3 separate regions of the Homo sapiens genome follow, and all the other regions are linked to region 1. Evidence: promoter capture Hi-C in human tissues and cell types (Jung and others, 2019). All regions are on one chromosome and are shown on one strand. Each heading gives the region's core, a stretch centred on a gene start or on the middle of the fragment in contact. The rest is flanking DNA. Distances are from core to core; before and after follow the strand shown.

Evidence for each region. The method cuts DNA at HindIII sites, captures the fragments that hold promoters and counts their contacts. A contact is called where the count stands out against the background at its distance.
Region 2: a fragment that was not itself captured here is called in contact with the fragment with the promoter of ENPP1 in region 1 in 1 of the 25 tissues and cell types used here (dorsolateral prefrontal cortex).
Region 3: a fragment that was not itself captured here is called in contact with the fragment with the promoter of ENPP1 in region 1 in 1 of the 25 tissues and cell types used here (IMR-90 fibroblasts).

The regions. Positions count from the first base shown.
Region 1 is chr6:131,806,152-131,809,577 of GRCh38, reverse strand. ENPP1 (ectonucleotide pyrophosphatase/phosphodiesterase 1) reads right to left here and starts at 1,558. Exons shown (of 25, transcript NM_006208.3): 1 at 1,303-1,558. The coding sequence starts at 1,542. The HindIII fragment of the contact is 10,154 bases long and covers 1-3,426 here.
Region 2 is chr6:131,622,109-131,625,534 of GRCh38, reverse strand. It overlaps MED23 (mediator complex subunit 23), which reads left to right. Exons shown (of 29, transcript NM_004830.4): 4 at 546-670; 5 at 2,073-2,184. Among named protein-coding and RNA genes, the nearest start is that of MED23, 4.4 kb to the left of the region's middle. The HindIII fragment of the contact is 5,524 bases long and covers 1-3,426 here.
Region 3 is chr6:131,672,963-131,676,388 of GRCh38, reverse strand. It overlaps ENPP3 (ectonucleotide pyrophosphatase/phosphodiesterase 3), which reads right to left. Exons shown (of 25, transcript NM_005021.5): 8 at 2,108-2,227; 9 at 1,200-1,309. Among named protein-coding and RNA genes, the nearest start is that of OR2A4, 27 kb to the left of the region's middle. The HindIII fragment of the contact is 5,272 bases long and covers 1-3,426 here.

The DNA.
Region 1 (3,426 bases), core at 309-2,808:
AAAGGTGACTCAAGAGACTAAGTTCTCATCAATATTGTGTTATTATAGACTCAAAACAGTGTTACAAGATGCAAAATTTTATCTTGAGATGCAAACATCATGTGGCTTGGGGTACTTATTCTGTGAAACTAAGGCTTCTTTTTAAGTACTAAGCATACGGCACCATCTCTTAAGTCTAGGAAGATTGATTCCTCAAAGTATTATAGCATCTCCATGATGTCCCAAATATAGTGAAAATGGAAATGCATACAAAATGAAAGGAGACTTGAAAAATTAGAAATTTTTCTACAAAGCATTATTCAATCATATGTAAGGGGATATATTTTAGGGTACACTATACATAGAAATCTGTGATTTCCATATAATACAATAAAAATGATTCTATTTCCTTGCTGTTTTCAATTTACTTCCCTACCTACATTCTTCAGCTTGATTTTCACAATAATCCCATGCAATGCACAAGGGAGTTGATGTTGTCCCATTTTCACACATTAGAAATTGAGGTTTAGGGACAGTTACGCAAGGCCTCAGCAAATAATAACAGCCAGGAATCCAGGCCTTCTCTCAATCAGCACTTCCCACCATGAATTCAGAATAAAAACCAACCCCCACATTTCATGAAGTTGACTGTGGGTCCTGCAAATGTCATAGCAAAATAGCAGAGGAGTAATAGGTAGCTTTTGTTAGCAACACAAACCGTGTAGCCTCTGGTTAGAAGAGTGGGCAAAGAATCATAAAGGTTTCTTCAGTCACATAATGTGAACATCCATGGAATTTCTGAGCACCTGCAAGGAAATTCCAAAACGGAGCGAAAGGGAAAAAGTGTTCCGTAGAGTTCCTAATAAAACTTAAAGAGCTCCGCTAACTCTTCAACTGCAATCAGTTAACCCAAGTGAAGTCATGTATACTGCGCCCAGAGCCCCCTAAAAGAAGCAACACATTGATGCACCTTCTTAAGACCAACAACTTTCGCGTTTGACATTTTTCTCCTCTAAAAACCCGTACTCTCCTGGGGCAGGGGGTCGAGTATTTCTAAGGATGACCGTTTTGAACAGCCTGCTTTCACAGGCATCCATAATTCAAGTGAGAGTGAACCATCCTGCCCTGGCAAGGTACCTGGCAGGGGCGGCTGTGTAGGGCACTTGCAAAGGCTGCGGAGGAGAGCGCGCGGGCGAAGAAGCACTCCCGGACCATGCCTCTCTCCGGTGCCCGGTGCTGACTGCGCTGAGAGCGCAGGAGCTCGGCGCCGCCCTCCCCGTACTCCCAGCCCTCCCGGGCGCCGGGGCCTGGCCGCGGACCTACCAGCGAGAGTACTTTATAGGTGTTGGGGTCCTTGGCAGTGCGGGCGCGCGCCGCCTTCTCCAGCGGCTCCTCCCCCACGTCCATAGGGGCCAGCAAGGACGCGGCCGCCTGCGGGTCCCCGGGCGCCTCGGCAGCGTGGCTGCGGCCCCGATCGCGGCCGTTCCCCGCCGGGCCCTCCCGGGGAGCGCGCCCGCCCTCGCCGCCGCGGCTCCCGCCCCCCGCGCAGCCGTCGCGCTCCATCGTGGCCCCGGCCGCTCCGGCCCCGCTGCCCGGCCGCGCCTTTAATAGGCCCCGCGCCGCCCGCCCCGCCCCGCCCCTCCCCGCCGCGCCCGCCCCTCGCGGTCAGATCCTTGGCTCCCCGCCCTACACCCGGCTCTCGCAGTCAGGGCAAAGCGACTCAACGCCCCGGATTATTTGGCTTCCTGTCTGATTTCGGGCACTCTGTGTGTCGGTTATTTTGGGTCCCTTACGTGGGCGTGTCTTAAACTTCCCCCCAAGCCGTCCCCTCCCCGCGCCCCGGCCACCCTCCCGACACTTGCAGGAATCGCCCTGCGTGGCCTCGCGGCGCGGGCTGGGCTGGAATTGCAGCGTGTGGTCTGCAGAGGGCATGAGATCATGGGGCCCCAAAATAGAGCGGGGAGGAGGAGAAGGATGCAGCCGCCGATGCCGGTCCGGCTTCTCAAAGGCGGGAGAGAGTGGAGTCTTGGGGTCGACCTGTGAGTTTCTGGATGGAAATGCAAATGAACCATGGAGGAAGGCGACTTTCTGTTTCTCCCCCTCTGCGCCCCGTCCCCCACTACCTACGGTACTCTGAGAGAGAAATCGTCCACTTAAAATACGTGGGTTCACATGTACTGAACACACGTAAGGGATATTTCGATTCCCACGGTTTTATGTGGTTTCTGGAGTCTTCTCGCTATTGTTTGTATGTATATTTGCTTATTTTTCTAGACTTTCTGTATTGAAGGTTTCAGGAGTTGGCGTTGCCCTCTCCTGAGGTTGACACTGATACCTAGCTATATCAAAAGTGTTAATGCAATCTGAAATACTTTGATAAGCCTTATTTTTCAACTAGGACGCTAACAGTGAGCTGATTCTTGGTGGGTTTTGTTTTACCTTTGATTCTGGAACTTGTACATTTTCTGGCTCATCACTTAGCAAAATCACCAGTGTGTAGTGAAGTGAGACAGAGGGAAACCAGTGACTTCGAACTACTTTGCAATACCCAGGACTGACTTCAGGTACCAAGGAAAACAATTAATTTTCAATACATTTTGAATACATGAATATATACAAGTGTTTACAAATGAGAATGAATGTTTAACAAATATAAAATGCATGTTATCCCTTTAAAATAGTCAACTTGGGATGCTCTTCATTTATACTGACTCATCCATCCACCCATCCATTTATTCATCAAGTAATGAATCCTTCAACTCAATCTTTTGGCCTCCAACTATGCATACCATATAAAAAATGAATTAAAATGTATCTTTCCTTAAGTGTGGTGGAAGCGGGGGTGGGGGGGTAGGACCAACTCGTAAACAAAATAATTAAAACCTAAGTCATATATGCAGAATAGAGTCACACATAGGATATTGATACAGGAGATAGAAATTATTTAGGCAGATAGTATGAGCAAAAGAGCCCTCGGCAGAACTTACCTTCTAACAAAAAGCAGCCCAAGAAATCACTTCCTTTCTAACAAAGAGCAACCTGGAAGATTGGGCTGCAAACATAGGTAAGGAAACTGGAAGCTTGCACGGGAGATGCCGGCAGCGGCACAGACAGAAGGGGCTACTGGGGCCAGGCATGTCCACCATGGGGGTTCCACCTCCCCTCTTTTTTACCACATGCACAGTAAGAAGGAAATAAGCAACACGGAGTAGCTACCTGCCTATATAGTAGAAGATTGGGGCCGGGGCTGCCAGACACTTAAGCCCTATGCAGATGACACACCTGGTCCTAACCGGGTTTTCATGCCATATGCACGAAACCGGGTTTTCCCTCCTTATGTAGATCAGACACCGCCTCCCCACTAGCTCATCTATAAAAACCCCTGCATTTCACCACGTATTGCAACCCATTTTTTGGGACCCCTCTCTGTAGCAGAGCTATTCTCCT
Region 2 (3,426 bases), core at 610-3,109, 180 kb after region 1:
TAATCCTAGAAGACAAACTTTGATACGGGCACAACATTTTGACATCGTATTTAAAGTTTTGCCAGTCTAGAAATGTGACATGTCATTGGATTCATAATGGGCTCTTGTTTGGGATCTTAGGGATTGGATTCACACCTAATTCTCCTAAGCCTGATACATACTGATCCATAATGAATTTTACCCCCAGTGACAGTAATATTTATATATGCCATAAAGGGCACTGTTTACAATGCCTTACAACAATCTGTGTTAAGAGTTTTCTATTGACCGTTAATATGTTAACTAATTAATTACTACTTTTGAAGTTCCCATGTAATAAAAATGGTAGCATTTTATCTATGTAATTACAAAATGTTAAGCTTAATGTGACAAATACTAAATCTGAATTTTTTAATTTTGCTTTTTTTAAAAATTATTTTCATCCACAGATGCTCATAGTGAAGTATTTCTTTCATAGTATTGGTATACTTCCAGTTGTAGTATTAGCTATTGGTTATAAAAATGTAACTTTAGACCCCAAGTAAAATCATTCTCTCATTTTCCAGGAGTCTCATGAACAGTGTATCCAGTGGATTGTTAAGTTTATTCATGGTCAGCATAGTCCTAAAAGAATTTCTTTTCTTTATGACTGCTTAGCAATGGCAGTTGAGACTGGTCTCCTTCCACCCAGGTACGTTTAATGGGTATGAGCAATCTGAAGAATTTTCTTTTCTATATGTGATTGGAAATTGGTTGAGGTTGTTGTTGTAAAAAGGTAAGAGAATGAAGAAGAAGGTGAGGTTTATCAAGTAATCCTTTATATAATACCTCAGGTTTTAGTTTCTAGGAGTAATAGTCTTTGAATTAGGTAATGCTTGTGGGCTCAAAACCAGATGTTTCTGCCCAGGGGCTGAAATTAATCACTTTAATTAGTTTGTAACCCTTTACTTTTGCTGCACAACCTCAACACCTTATGGCTTAAAACAGTAATACTCAGGTTTTAAAATTATTCATGGTTTTAGTGGTTGACTCGGCTTAGGAGACACTTTTTACTCAAGGTCATAATGATTGTGATCAATGTGGCTAGGGCTGGAGCATGGCAAAAGCTTCCCCACTCAGATATCTGGTGGTTGATTCCTGGCTGTCATCTGGAACCTCAGCTGGGATTATTAGCCAGAACCTCCGCAGGCCCTCACCTTGTGGCCTAGACTTTCTCACCTCATGGTGGAGCCTAACAGCAAGTGTGCAAAAGAGGGCTAGGCAGAAATTGTATCACCTTGTCTTCTTGGAAGTCATACTGCATCCTTTTGGCCATAGTCTTAGGTCTGCCCAGATCTAAGGAGTGAGAACGTAGACTTTCCCCCTACCTCTCCTTGGGAGAAATGTCAGTGTCACATTTCAGAAGAAGATGTGGGATCAAAAATCTTGTTGCCATCCTGTTGGAAAAATCCAGTGTACCACAAGGTGATAGATGGTAAACATCTAACCGAAAGCTTTAGATAGACTTCTTTCTAGTAAAATATAACATAATGAATATTATTTCATTCTTACTTTGTTTTTGATCTTTCATACAAGTAAAAAATGTAAAATACTACACAGATTTATAAGTGTGCTTAGTAATCACTTTTATGAAAGACACTTGTGAGGATAAATATAATACAGTGCACAGACTATGGCTGTATTAGTCTGTCTGATGCTGCTAACAAAGATATACCCGAGACTGGGTAACTTATAAAGGAAAGAGGTTTAATTGACTCACAGTTTGGCATGGCTAGGGAGGCCTCAGGAAACTTAGAATAATGGCAAAAGGCACCTCATCACAGGGTGGTGGGAGAGAGAATGAGTGCCCAGTGAAGGGGGAATCCCCATATAAAACCATTAGATCTTGTGAGAACTAACTCACTATCATGAGAACAGTATTGGGGGAACTGTCCCTCATGATTTAAATGGTTTTTCTCATGACACGTGGGGATTATGGGAACTACAATTCAAGATGAGATTTGTGTGAGTACACAGCCAAACCATATTGGCGGCTATTAGAGAACTTGGAAAATTCTGTCTTGTAACTGGAATGGCTATTTCTTTTTTTATAGGCTGGTTTGTGAATCCCTGATAAACTCTGACACTCTTGAGTGGGAAAGAACACAGCTTTGGGCCTTAACATTTAAACTGGTTCGGAAAATAATTGGGGGAGTGGATTACAAGGTATATTTTTCTTATTATAAAAAGTGATTGCTTTCAGATATGATTGATTTTTCGGTGTGCATGTCTTATTTTCAGGTGAGAGAAATGATGTGGAAGCATTTACAAAATCTGTCTATTTCTTGTGGTATATTTCCTGAAAAGATTTAAAGTTACTCAGTTGTTTCCCTGGCTCCGCTACTCCCCTCCCAACATTCTTATAAATACAGGTAGCTGATACATTTTTATGAAGAGCAGGGAAGTCACAAAGCAGAATCCGTGTTCCTTCATGCTGCAAGTATTATGATCCCTTCAAATGAAAGCACAGAGCAGGGGTGTGTGGAACTGAGAAGGGATGTAGGCATCACTGATGAAGGGAGCAAGACCTGGCTTCACTTCTCTTGAACGTGGGTCTTACCTCAATTAATATCTTCAGCACTTTGGGCTCTTGACCAAAAACAACATACACTTTCTAGTTTTGTCTCATAAAACGGCTTAGGGACTCCATAGCTACAAAAGCCATTCTGCATCTTCAGGAGACTTTTGTTATTGTCCTTTTCCCGGGAATTACCAGTGTCTGACCCTGTGCTTTATTTCTGCATTTTCTCTAATCTGAAATGATTTAACAGGTAATGACCTAACAGATAATTATTAGTTTAAATCATGATTTATCACACAGTTAACTCTAAGAAGCTTTTGCTAATTATTTTCTCTTTACTCAGACTTATGCAATTTTCTTATTTGTATGATACTTCATAATTGTTCTTTTAGGTATATGTTCTGTCTTTTACAAGCTTGGTTACGTAGTTCATAGTCAATAAATAAATGTTGAATGAAATTTCTTCTTTATATATCAGATAATGTAACTGGTATTGGATATGTGGAAATGATTAACAGAATAGCCTTGGATATCCTTGAGAGATTAAGGTATGTGATGGATGAGAAGGGAGAATAGGCCAGTCACAGTGGCTTACACCTATAATCCCAGCACAAAAGGGAGTGAGCAGAAACAGTCCTCTACCAAAAAGTTTGATATTGTTACTCAAGTTTTCAGAGTGCATTGAAGTCTTGTTACAATATATTTCTGTCTATATGTATAATTAAGGTTTTTGACCCTTGTAACAACGTAAACCCTTCTAATGTTATGAGGGCCAAAAAAGCTTGACAAACTGTATAATGACTTTCTTTGCTCATTGTATTTTAAGACAGTCTTTAGAACTCTGTTTTGGAACATGACTCTTCTGTTGGGTTAATGTTAGGGACTTA
Region 3 (3,426 bases), core at 454-2,953, 130 kb after region 1:
AACAGAATGTATCAGTGAGGAAACCAAAGATTACATTCTAATGCAGGAAGACAAGTACCAAACAATAGACCTAATATAAAAATAAATTATATAGCGTATTAAAAGGTGATAAATGTTGTGGACCAAAAAAAAAAAAAAACTAGAGCAGAGTAACTGAGATGAAGGTGGTTTGAAATTTTAAATCTTAAGTATAACTGGGGTAAGACAATATTGAGAAGGTAATTTTTCAACAGAGCTGGAAGGCAGGGAAAGAGTAGGCATTCGGATCCATGGAGCAAATCATCTCAGGGAGGGTGAACAGCCAGTGCAATGTCCTGCAGCAGAAGCAAGTCTAGCATGTTGAAGTCCACCAACGAGTTCAGAGTGAGCACCCGAGGGAGTAGCAGAAGGGGAGGTCTGAGAGGTAAGGGGACACCAGAGGTCATGCCACACAGGGCCTTGTAAGCTTTTACTCTGAGTGACACAGGGGGCCATTGAAGTTTTTGGTGCAAAATAATGCCATAATTGGACTTGCATTTTATTTTATTTAATTTTATTTTATTCATTTGAGACGGAGTCGCGCTCTGTCGCCCAGGCTGGACTACACTGCAGGAGCCCCTGATCTCAGCTCACTGCAACCTCCACCTCCTGGGTTCAAGCTATTCTCCCACCTCAGCCTCCAGAGTAGCCAAGATTAGAGGTAATGCGCCACCATGCCCAGCTAATTTTTGTATTTTTTCTTCTGGTAGAGACAGGGTTTCACCATGTTGACCAGGCTGGTCTTGAACTCCTGACCTCAGGTGATCAGCCCATCTCAGCCTCCCAAACTGCTGGGATTACAGGCATGAGCCACCGCACCTGGCTGGACTTGAATTTTAAAGGAATCCCTCTGGTGGGTGGGATGAGACTAGATTATAAAGGATAAGAAGCAGAGATGAGTAAAGAGGCAACTGCAGTTAATACAGGCAAGAGATGACAGCTCGAACCAGAGTGGTAATGCTAGAGGTAATAAAAAGTTCTCAGGCTACATAGATTTTTAATTACAGCCAAAAGCATTTACTGAGAGACTGCTTGAGTGACATAAAGGAAAGGAATCAATGGTGATTCCCAAGATTTTTGGCTTAAACAACTGGATTAATAGAATTGCCACCAAGATTAAGACAGAAAACATCTTGATCATTTCTGCCTAGCTGGGAGAATATCTGAAAGTGCTTCACTACCCGTTGTAAGGCATGTATATGGAAGGAAAGGAGCCATTTATAGCCACTTCTGATCCGGGCCAAAAGTAGGTAGCGGCTTTTAAACCTTGATACATTGCTGTCAGCCACATCTGTAAGAAAATTTAGGATAAGCGAAAGTCAGTAATTACTTTGGGTAGAAATGGTGTACCTTACTAGAAACTAAACAAGATTAATAGTTGCAACATGTATTAAAATTGAAATTTTAATCTTTGTAGTAATTAAAAGATATAATTATCTAAGAATCTGCCTCAAAAATCAAAAACGTAGCAATCAAACTGGTAAAATTGGATGGTTCCTCTCTCCCTTTAAAAGAATTACAACCTGTAATCCCAGCACTTTGGGAGGCCGAGGCAGGAGGATCACGAGGTCAGGAGATAGAGATCATCCCGGCCAACATGGTGAAACCCCATCTCTACTAAAAATACAAAAAAATTAGCTGGGCGTGGTGGTGCGTGCCTGTAGTCCCAGCTACTCGGGAGGCTGAGGCAGAAGTGCTTGAACCTGAGAAGCAGAGGTTACAGTAAGCCGAGATCACACCACTGCACTCCAGCCTGGCGACAGAGCAAGACTCCATCTCAAAAAAAAAGAAAAAAAAAAAGACTTACAAAACAAAATGAGGAAAAACATTAACAGATAATCTTTCTGAGTAACTTCCAGATGGATACATTTATAACCCAATATCCAAGTTTAAACATACCTATTTGAGTTAACAACCATAAATGTTTTAAAAATTCAAGTTACAAATAGTGGTAAAACACCTTTGCACCCTCAGCCCTTAGAAACTAGATGGGTGACATAGAACTTGCTCCACTGAGTGAGAAGAGTGTCCTCCTGTCACACTGAGAAATGGAGGTTACTTCAGTTGCGACGTGTAGAATGCTACATACTGGTTGCCCATGCCACCAGGCTGGATTATTTTGTTCCTTTGAAGAAAGTGAAAAATTCTTGTTGAGATTTACATCATACATATTATTGTCAATGATGCCATGTGACTCTGGATACAAGCCCTAAAATGATAATTTCAAAAAAGATGTAAGATAAAATATTAGTAAAATAGAAATTTAAATTAAAATAGCACACGATCTATTACTCATACCTAAGAAAGGTACTATATACCTTTCAATGTAAAACACCTGGACCTGAACTTACATATCAGGAGATATTGTCATCCCTTGGCTTTCATAGGGCATTAGTTCCATGACCTCCCTCAGGTACCAAAATCAGAAGATGTTTAAGTCCCTGCTAGTAAATGGCTTGGGATTTGCATATAACCTATGCATACCCTCCTATATATTTTAATCATCTCTAGATTACTTATAATAGCTAATGCAATATACATGCTATGTCAATCATTGTTGTATTGTTTAGGGAATAGTGACAAAAAAAAGTCTGTACATGTTCAGTACAGACGCAATTTTTTTCCAAATATTTTCTTTCTTTCTTTCTTTCTGTCTGTCTGTCTGTCTGTCTTTTCTTTCTCTCTTTCTTCCACTTTTATTTTAGGTTTGGGGGTACATGTGAAGGTTTGTTACCTAGGTAAACATGTGTCATAGGGGTTTGTTGTACATATTATTTCATCACCCAGGTATTAAGCCAGCACTCAATAGTTATACTTTCTGCTCCTCTCCCTCCTCCCACCCTCCTGCCTCAAGCAGACCCCAGTGTCTGTTGTTTCCCCTTTGCGTTAATAAGTTCCTATCATTTAGCTCCCACTTATAAGTGAGAATGTGTGGTATATAGTTTGCTAAGGATGATAGTCTCCAGCTCCATTTATGTTCCCACAAAAAACATGAGCTTGCTTTTTTATGGCTGCATAATATTCCATGGTGTATAGGTACCACTTTCTCTATCTAGTCTGTCATTGATGGGCATTTAGGTTGATTCCACCCAAATATTTTCAATCCACAGTTAGTTGAATCCACGGATTCAGAACCCACACATATGGAGGGCCAAGTGTGTATATATATATATTTTTTCTAGTTCTATTATGGTTTACAGCAGCAAATAAGTGACATTAGGCTGATAGCTTGTGCTGATGGTGTTAATATAACTTTTGTGTGCTTAATAACTGTTTAATTAACTGTTTGTTAAAGTTTCCCATATTAGAATAATGGTTAGCCACTGGTTATATTATCAATAATAGCAAGGAATTTACTAGATAGAAGCTTTCTGTATATCAAATATCCTGGCTAAATTGAATTAAAGG